Linked DNA regions of Homo sapiens: region 2 is linked to region 1. The links are contacts of gene promoters, found by promoter capture Hi-C in human tissues and cell types (Jung and others, 2019). All regions are on one chromosome and are shown on one strand. Each heading gives the region's core, a stretch centred on a gene start or on the middle of the fragment in contact. The rest is flanking DNA. Distances are from core to core; before and after follow the strand shown. Region 1 holds the start of KCNJ4 (potassium inwardly rectifying channel subfamily J member 4). Region 2 overlaps PLA2G6 (phospholipase A2 group VI).

Region 1 (3,954 bases), core at 856-3,355:
CCCCTTCCTTCTTATCCTAAGCTAAGACATCTTCTCACAGCATCTCCCAGAGCTACTTCATTCTCTCTTTCGCAAATGTCTACGAACCTACTATGCTCCAGGCTGGCGCACGCGGCTTTCACAGACCTGACACAGTCTGGAAACTGCTCAACACCCTGATGAAGTCAGTATCATCATACCTATTCTCCAGTTGAAGAAACTGAGGTTCAGAGAGGTCAAGCCACCCACCCAAGGTCACCCAGCAGAAACTCAACCAGCTCTGCCTGGTCACAGCCACTCCAGAGGATTTTCTGAGAGAAGAGCTTTCTTTTCAAGGATAACCCAAAGGGCCATGAGGAATTGTACCCCAGATTCCCCCTCTAATCCTGGACACTCCTCCTTCGTCAGCTATTTCCGCCATATTCCCACTGCCCCACGCCCACCTCCACCCACTAGCTGTTCATCTCTCTTAAGGTAAAGTGAGTCTTTACTCCCATCTCCCCAGTGCTTTCCCCAGCCTGTGAACAGCCCACTGCTCATTGAGCCCAGGGCCCGCCTTGGAGGTCACTGGGGCAGGGAGTGACGTCCCCATGCCACAGATGTGGAAGATGACGGTTGGGAGGAGAGTGACCAGCCCAGGGGGCTGCTCTCCCAGCCACCTGAGCTAATTTCTGGGAGGCTGAATGGAGGACATATGAGACCCACTGCCCAGTGTGGAACACCCCAGAAAGAGTCCCTCCTCCCAGTGAGAATGGAGTGGAATGTTCTAGGCTCAGCCCTTCCAACTCCAGTTGGGATATGGGTCAGTTCAGTGGCCAACAGTCTCTGTTCCCACCATGCTGCACCCATCTCTTACCCCAGCTGCCCTGGTCCACCTTTTGCTCCCCTCAGCACAGGCCAAGCCAGGGCCACAGTGAGGCTCTTGGGCCCCTAAAGTCCTGCTAACTGCCCCCAAAAGGCCTGAAGCCATGGAGGTCATGGGACTGGATGTGGGGGAGAACACACACACACACGGCTCCAACCCTTCTCTGGGCCTCCCTCCCTGAGTTCCCCACTTCCCCCAAACCTGCTGCTGAACATTCTACTGCTCTTGAGGCCCTGCTCTGTCAGCTGGCCAGGCTGCCCTGCCTCTAGCCCGCCGCTCCACCCCACCCAGCTTGCCACCTCCCAACTCCCTGCATCCTGTCCATCCTGAAGCAGGGACACTGGGGGCAGAAATGTGGGTAGGGGGCAGGGAGGCTGACACTGGTGGGGGGACATTTGGCAGGTTGCAGGGGAAGTTCTCCCTGCGGGAGGCTCATTGAGACCTCTCTTGCCTTGGGGTGCTCCCTACACACGGAGGAAAAAGCAGCCTCTGCCTCCCTCCCCAGCCTGTGTCTATCACTGTGAACGTGCAGTGCCTCCTCTACCAATCCCTGCCCCTGCGCCCTGGGGTCGTGTGGCGCCAAGTAGGTGCTCAAAACATGAGAAGTGAGATTTCGTTCTTCAGATCACAGGGCCATTTGCAACGAGGATGCAGCTGGGGAGGCGGAAAGGCGGCATCCCCCACCTTGCCACAAGTCACCTGCCTTGAAGCTCCCCGGCATGACAACTGGGGTGGGTGGAGGCAGGGAAAGGTCATGGCTGGGGCAGGAGGTCAAGACCCCTTCCACCCACCTCTCTCCCCCTTTCCAGGCCACAACCCAGACCGCGACGCTCCCAGACGGACAGACGGACAGAGCCCGCCCGTGGAGCCCGCCCGCTCCCGGGGAGTCACGGGACCGCGCGCGCGGCGCCGGGCAGCCGGGACCCGGCTCCGGATCAGGTGCGGAGCGGGCGGGGCCGGAGCGGCGGGCCCGGGACACACAGACACGCACGCGGCGGGACAAACTGACGGACAGCGCCCGGGGTGGGCGAGCGCGGCTTACCGCTGGGCGGAGGGTCCGACGAGAGTCCGGGAGGCGGCGAGCGGGCGCTACATCCCAAGGCGCGATCCGGCGGGCGGCGTCCCGGGCGCGGAAAGGGGAGTCCCGGCGCCCCCTGCCCGCGAACTCGGCCGGCCGGCCCGCGCTCCCCTCCCCGGCTGCCGCTCGGTCTGCGCGTGGGTCTTGGGGTCTCCGCGCGTCCCGGCCGTCCCGCGCCGCTCCCCGCGGGCCGCCCAACTTTCAGCGCTGCCCCGCGCCGCGCCCTCGGCGCCGCCTCGGCGTCAGCATCGTCGGGCCCGGCCGGGCTCACAGCGCGGGGGTCCGGGGGCCCGGGGCGCCCCGCCGCCCGCGCCCCCCACCCCCGCTGCAGGCGCCCTCCCCGCCGCCGTCCCCCGCTGCGCCCAGCTCCCTCGCTGTCACCCGCTCCTGCTCGCGCGCTCTGCCCCCGGCCCTGCGCTCCACTCCCGGCCCCGCTGCGCTCGGCCCCGGCCCCGCGACCCCTCGGCCTCCCGGCCTGGGGTCGCCCTCCCCGCCCCCGCCGGCCGGGCTCTGTCGCCACCTCCCCGACCGCTCTCGCGTCTCTCTCCTGCCGCCGGGGTCTCCGCCGCGCTCGCGTCCCGGTCCCTCTCCCGGCCTCCCTGCCTCCTGCGGCCCCGCTCGCCCTCTGCCCGCGGGGTCTCCGTCTCCGTCGCGGTCGCCCGCCGGCCTCCCCCCGCCTCCCTCTGCCCGCGCTGCCTCTCTCCCCTGCGCGTCTCTGTCCGTCTCCCTCGCGGCCCCTGTCCTTCTCTGTCTCTCCCCCTCCCACTCTCCGTGCGGCCCCCTCTGTCTCGGACCCCGGCCCCCGCCTTGGCCGCGTCCCCGGCTCGCCCGGGAGCCCGAGCTCCCGCCGCCCGCGGCGCGCCGAGAACTCCCAACTCGCGGCACGCCGCCCCGCTTTGCGAGACTTTCGCCCCTCCTCACACGTGACCCGCGCCCCACTGCGGAGGCCGCGCGCCCCCCAGCCCGGGAGCCCCGGCTGCCCGCGGGACCCCGCCCTGCCCGCCCCTCGGCCTAACCCGGCCTCAAGCCCCCTCCCGCGGGGCCCGCGGCGCGGAGCAGGGGCTGGGGCGGGGGGCTGCTGGCCCCGCTCCTGCCCTGGATCCTGCCCGGGTTTTCCTCCTCGCCCCAGGAGCGCTCCTCCCAGAACCCGTTCCTGGATCCGCTCCCGGGTTTTGTGCCCCCCCCCCAAAAGGGGGCAGGTGGAGAGGGTTCCTCCGAGCCGGGAAGGGGGGTGGGTGGGAGCTGGTCCCTCTGGGGTCCCACGGAGTCCGCCCCTCTCCTTAGCGGTCCTCGTACTCTCCCAAAGTACCGCCGGTCAAGGACCCGAAGCACCTCACTCTGGGAGTCTGAGGGGGCCCTATTGGAGGGACCCTCGCGATCACTCAGTCACCACTGCCCCATTTTACAGATGGCGAGACTGGGTACCAGAGAGGGTCAGAAACTCGGCCAAGGTCACCCAGAGATGACAAAGCCAGGCCAAACCCTAGTCTCTTATTCTCTGTCGCTCTCCATTACCCCAAGCTGTCAGGCCTGGGCCCCACACTCTGGGGTGTCAGGGAACCCCCAGCACCCACAGCACCTGTCTAGCCAGCTACATCCTGACCATCCTGCCACGTCACTCTAGCCCTCCGAGGAGACAGGAGGGAAAGTGCTCCTCCTTCCAGGGTGGTAGGACGAGAGAACACCTGCAGTTAGACAGCCAGCAAAACTTCCCTGGGAGTCTGGCCATCACCGACTAGCCCCATTACAGAGAGGGAGAGACCGAGGCACCCCAAAGCCAGGTGGAGAACTGATGAAATCTGAAATCCCCTCTGGCTCTCCTGAGCCTCGAGGATGTCAGCATAAGAACAGCAACACACAAACCACCACAAGTGTTTCCCTTCCTCGTGGGCTCTCCCTACTCAAAAGGATTCAGTCCCAACTCCTCAGTGTGGTATAGTCAGGCCCCACCTTATCCGGCATCCCACATCCCATAAATCCACAGGTACACCCTGATTCCACAGATTCCAGAACACGCCACAGGCCTCCACAC
Region 2 (4,286 bases), core at 961-3,460, 280 kb before region 1:
AAGCCCTGATCCTTCTTCAAATCCAAGCTTGGTTCTCGTGGTTCTCAGCCTCCTCCTTAAAAATGTTTTTGTTGTTGTTGTTTTGAAACAGGGTCTGGCTCTGTTGCCCAGGCTGGAGTACAGTGGCTCAATCATGGCTCACTGCAGCCTCTACCTCCTTCCACCTCAGCCTCCTGAGTAGCTAGGACTACAGGTGTGTATCACCAGGCCTAGGTAATTTCTTCCAAACAATTTTTATAGAGGCCAGGCATGGTGGCTCATGCCCGTAATCCCAGCACTCTGGGAGGCTGAGGAGGGCAGATCACTTGAGGTCAGGAATTTGAGACCAGCCTGACCAACATGGTGAAACTCCGTCTCTACTAAAAATATAAAAAAATTAGCTGGGCATGGTGGTGGGCACCTATAATCCCAGCTACTTGGGAGACTGAGGCAGGAGAATCACTTGAGCCCGGGAGGTGGAGGTTGCAGTGAGCCAAGATAGCACCACCGCACTCCAGCCTAGGTGACAGAGTGAAGACTCCGTCTCAGAAAAAAAAAAAAAAAAATTATAAAGACAGGGTCTTACCACGTTGCTCAGGCTGGTCTCGAACGCCCGGGTTCAAGCGATCTGCCTGCCTCAGCCTCTCAAAGTGCTGGGATTACAGGTGTGAGTCACCGTGTCTGGCCTAAAATGTTCTTGATACACCATCACCAGATGCCAGGTTCTCTCTCCTTGCTCTGGGCTCTCCCTCACTTTAAACACATCTGTACTATCACAGCCCAGCATGTTACAACTGCCCCTCCTGCCAGACGGTAAGCTTCGTCATCCTCCTACCAAACACTCCTGTGCATCTTGCTGGCACCATCCTGAAAGCTTTACGTACATTAATCATTCTGTCTGACAACCACTCTATGAACTGGTTACTATTATTATCCTCATTTTACATATGAGAACACCAAAGAACAGAGGGGTAAAGTCACGGGCCCAGGGTCACCCAGCTAGTGGGTGGAGCAGTGAAAGCTGGCACCCAGATGGGCTGGCCCAGAGTCTGAGTTTCTCAAAGGCAGCTGCTCGTCTTTTCATCTCCGTCCACAAGCTTGGCTCACAGAAAGTTTGTCAAAACAAAAATTTAACTGAGTAAATATTATGCATAGAAAAAACAAAGCCTGATAGAAAACAAACCAAGATAGACTGACAGAAAACATGCCATTGAGTAGATGAGGGTGCTGGGTTTATGGGCTTTTGTTTTTTCCTTTTCCCTATTTTCCAGATGCTATGTAAAGCGATTATAGTTTTCAAAGGAAGTAGCAGTATAGGCTGAGCCTCTGGGGGCTGCAGCCGGGAAGATGGGGACCTGTGGGACTCAGGCCTGGCCTGGAAGAGCGCAGAGAGGCTACCCCGAGGACGGGCCCACAGGGACGCGGAGGGGTGCGCCCAGGAAGGGCAGAGAGTCAAGAGCATCCAGCACCCATGAGCCTCAGATTGAGGGAGAAAGTCACCAGGGGTGCAGTGAAATCAAAGAAAGATTCCACACACCCCTTCGTCAATGGCCCAGCCTGTGTACCCCCCACCAGAGCCTGGGGCTAGGGGATGCCCCCCACACACCCACGACAGCATGGCCACAGAAACGACAGGCTTGGCTGGCATCCAGCCTTCAGGGTAGGCAGGAGGACGAGATGACGCAATGGAGGGAAGGTGTCTGGGACACAGGCCGACTGTGGGCACACAAACAGTGGCCATTGTTATCACTAGGTGGAAGAAAGGAAATGACAGCCACGGGGCCACATCCTGGAACACTCACGGCATTGCCAACCAGGAAGGCGGGCCAGCAGGGAGAAAGTGCTCACACGTGCTTCCTTCTGTCCCTGCCACCTTGGACCCTGGAGCCTAGGCTCTTCCCAGCACAGCTGCAAGAGGGGGATGGTGGATGAGGGCCCCCCGCATCATGCCTCACTTCATCTCTCCCCCTGGCTTCTCACAGCGTCCTACCCTTGACCTTCCCGTGGGGTAGACAATCACTTTTCCCCACTGATGACCGGCCCCTCCTCCTCCTTACCTGGGCTTCTCCCTGCACCCCCAGGATGCCCAGGTCACCTGACACAGACCGCACCTCGGCTGTGTCAAGCAGCTCTCTCAAACACCACAAGCAGAAAGACAAAGACCCAAGACCTTTGGTGGTGGGGGTTGACAGTGACAATTCTGCCTGTCCAAGCCAGGCAATTTCCAGGTACCAATTTTGGTGCCCCTGCTGAGGGAAGCCAGATATTTCTGGCCGTTTTCCTTATCTCTGCTCACCCATCCTCTGTCAAAACCAAGCTTGCCTGCTGGGTTCATTGAGGGAAGACTGACAGAGAGTGTGCTGGTGTGAGGGTCCCCTGGAGGAGCTGAAGGACGGGAGGAACAAGTATTATTATCCCATCTTCCCATCTCAGAGATCAAGAAACTGAGGCCCAGAGAGGCCCTGAATTGTACATGTTCAAAGGGCAAATTAAGGCCGGGCACAGTGGCTCGTGCCTGTAATTCCAGCATTTTGGGAGGCTGAGGCAGACGGATTGCTTGAGCCCAGGAATTTGAGACCAGCCTGGGGAACATGGCAAAACCCTGTCTCTACAAAATATAAAATAAAATTAGCTGGGCATGGTGGTGTGCGCCTGTGGTCCCAGCTACTCGGGAGGCTAAGGCAAGAGGATTGCTTGATCCTCTTGAGGTCGAGACTGCAGTGAGCCAAGATTGCACTACTGCACTCCAGCCTGGGAGACAGAGCAAGACCCTGCCTCAAAAACAAAACAAAACAAAGGGCAAATTAAAGTTGATGTCCACCAAAAAACAAAAACAAACGGGCTGGGCGCAGTGGCTCACGCCTGTAATCCCAGCACTTTGGGAGGTTAAGGCGGGCGGATCACGAAATCAGGAGATTGAGACCATCCTGGCTAACATGGTGAAACCCCGTCTCTACTAAAAATACAAAAAAAATTAGCTGGGCGTGGTGGCGGGTGCCTGTAGTCCCAGCTATTCGGGAGGCTGAGGCAGGAGAATGGCGTGAACCCGGGAGGCGGAGCTTGCAGTGAGCCGAGATCATGTCACTGCACTCCAGCCTGGGCGAGAGCGAGACTCTGTCTCAAAAAAAAAGAAAGAAAGAAAAACAAACGAAGAAACAAAAAACCTCGAGTGGGAACAGAGGGAGATTGGAGCCAATGGTAGCATCTCTGATGAGTTCCCTGGAAGTGACTACCTGGGTTCATAAAACAGTCAACAGAGAGACCCAAGACCAGTCCCTGTCTCGCCAAGTGCACGGTCCCCTGAGGGAAGGACCCCTAAAGGGGATGACTTTTTAGCTGAACTTTCCAGGAAGAACAGGAGTTTGCCAGCGGGGGAAATGGCGAGAGGCCTTCACAGCAGATGAAGCAGATCAGAACACGGAGGAAGGCAGAGATCAGGGGCTTGCTCAGCCCACCCATGAACGGTGAGCATTTTCACTGGGACTGGACGGCTCGAGAGGGGAAGGTGCTGAGAGGAGGGGCCGTGGTTAGTGCTGTGATCAACGTGAACACAGGTCACCTGGAGCCACTTGTCCAGGGCTGCTATGTCAGTCACGCCCCTCGCCATGCCCAGGGAAGCTCCTCTCATGACGAGGAGCCAAGCCCCGGAAGAAGTGCAGTAGAGGACAAGGGACCAAGAGGGTGGCTCAGAGCGGGTGGTGAGGGAGAACTCAGTCCCAAAAATCTGGTTCCTCCTCAGCTACGAATTCCCTGAAGGACCCTGGGCAGGTCTCAGGCACGGGAGGAGCGGTCCCTGCCCTCTGATTGCTGCTACCTGCCGCAGCTGCCAGGCCCAGGCAGTCCCCTCTCCTCCCCTTTGGAAGGTCTGTGTGAAAACTGCTTTTCTGTAGTGAAAGGGGCCTGCACTTGCGTCCTCCCTGGAATGCGCTCTCCAGTTCCTGCTGGAGCCCCTGCTCATCCTTCAAGGCCCAGCTGCCCCCTCTGAATGCTCAGAGCACCAGAGTGCCCTTCCAGCCTGCACGGTTCCCAACCCAGCCTGACACCCCTCCATGCCCACTGTACGATGCAAATCCAGCTGCAGGTCTCCCTGCTGACCCTGGCCAGTGGCGCCCCATGACCTCCCAGGGAAAGCCCAGACTCCAGCATCCATGAGAGCTGGCCCAACTCACCCCTCCAACTCATCCCTCACCTCTACTCCAGCCACGCCGCACCATCGATCTTCCCAGAACACGTCAAACTCGTGTCTCAGTGCACTTGGGGATACCACACATACGCTCCATCAGCGTAGCCCATCCTCCCCACTTTCT

The links. The method cuts DNA at HindIII sites, captures the fragments that hold promoters and counts their contacts. A contact is called where the count stands out against the background at its distance.
Region 2: a fragment that was not itself captured here is called in contact with the fragment with the promoter of KCNJ4 in region 1 in 3 of the 25 tissues and cell types used here (dorsolateral prefrontal cortex, heart left ventricle and lymphoblastoid cells).

The regions. Positions count from the first base shown.
Region 1 is chr22:38,453,094-38,457,047 of GRCh38, forward strand. It overlaps KCNJ4 (potassium inwardly rectifying channel subfamily J member 4), which reads right to left and starts at 2,106. Exons shown (of 2, transcript NM_152868.3): 1 at 1,887-2,106. RefSeq lists an enhancer at 1-2. The HindIII fragment of the contact is 19,664 bases long and covers 1-3,954 here.
Region 2 is chr22:38,171,296-38,175,581 of GRCh38, forward strand. The region is part of intron 1 of PLA2G6 (phospholipase A2 group VI); the gene reads right to left. Among named protein-coding and RNA genes, the nearest start is that of PLA2G6, 8.4 kb to the right of the region's middle. RefSeq lists an enhancer at 2,815-2,959 and a cis regulatory region at 2,887. The HindIII fragment of the contact is 3,596 bases long and covers 413-4,008 here.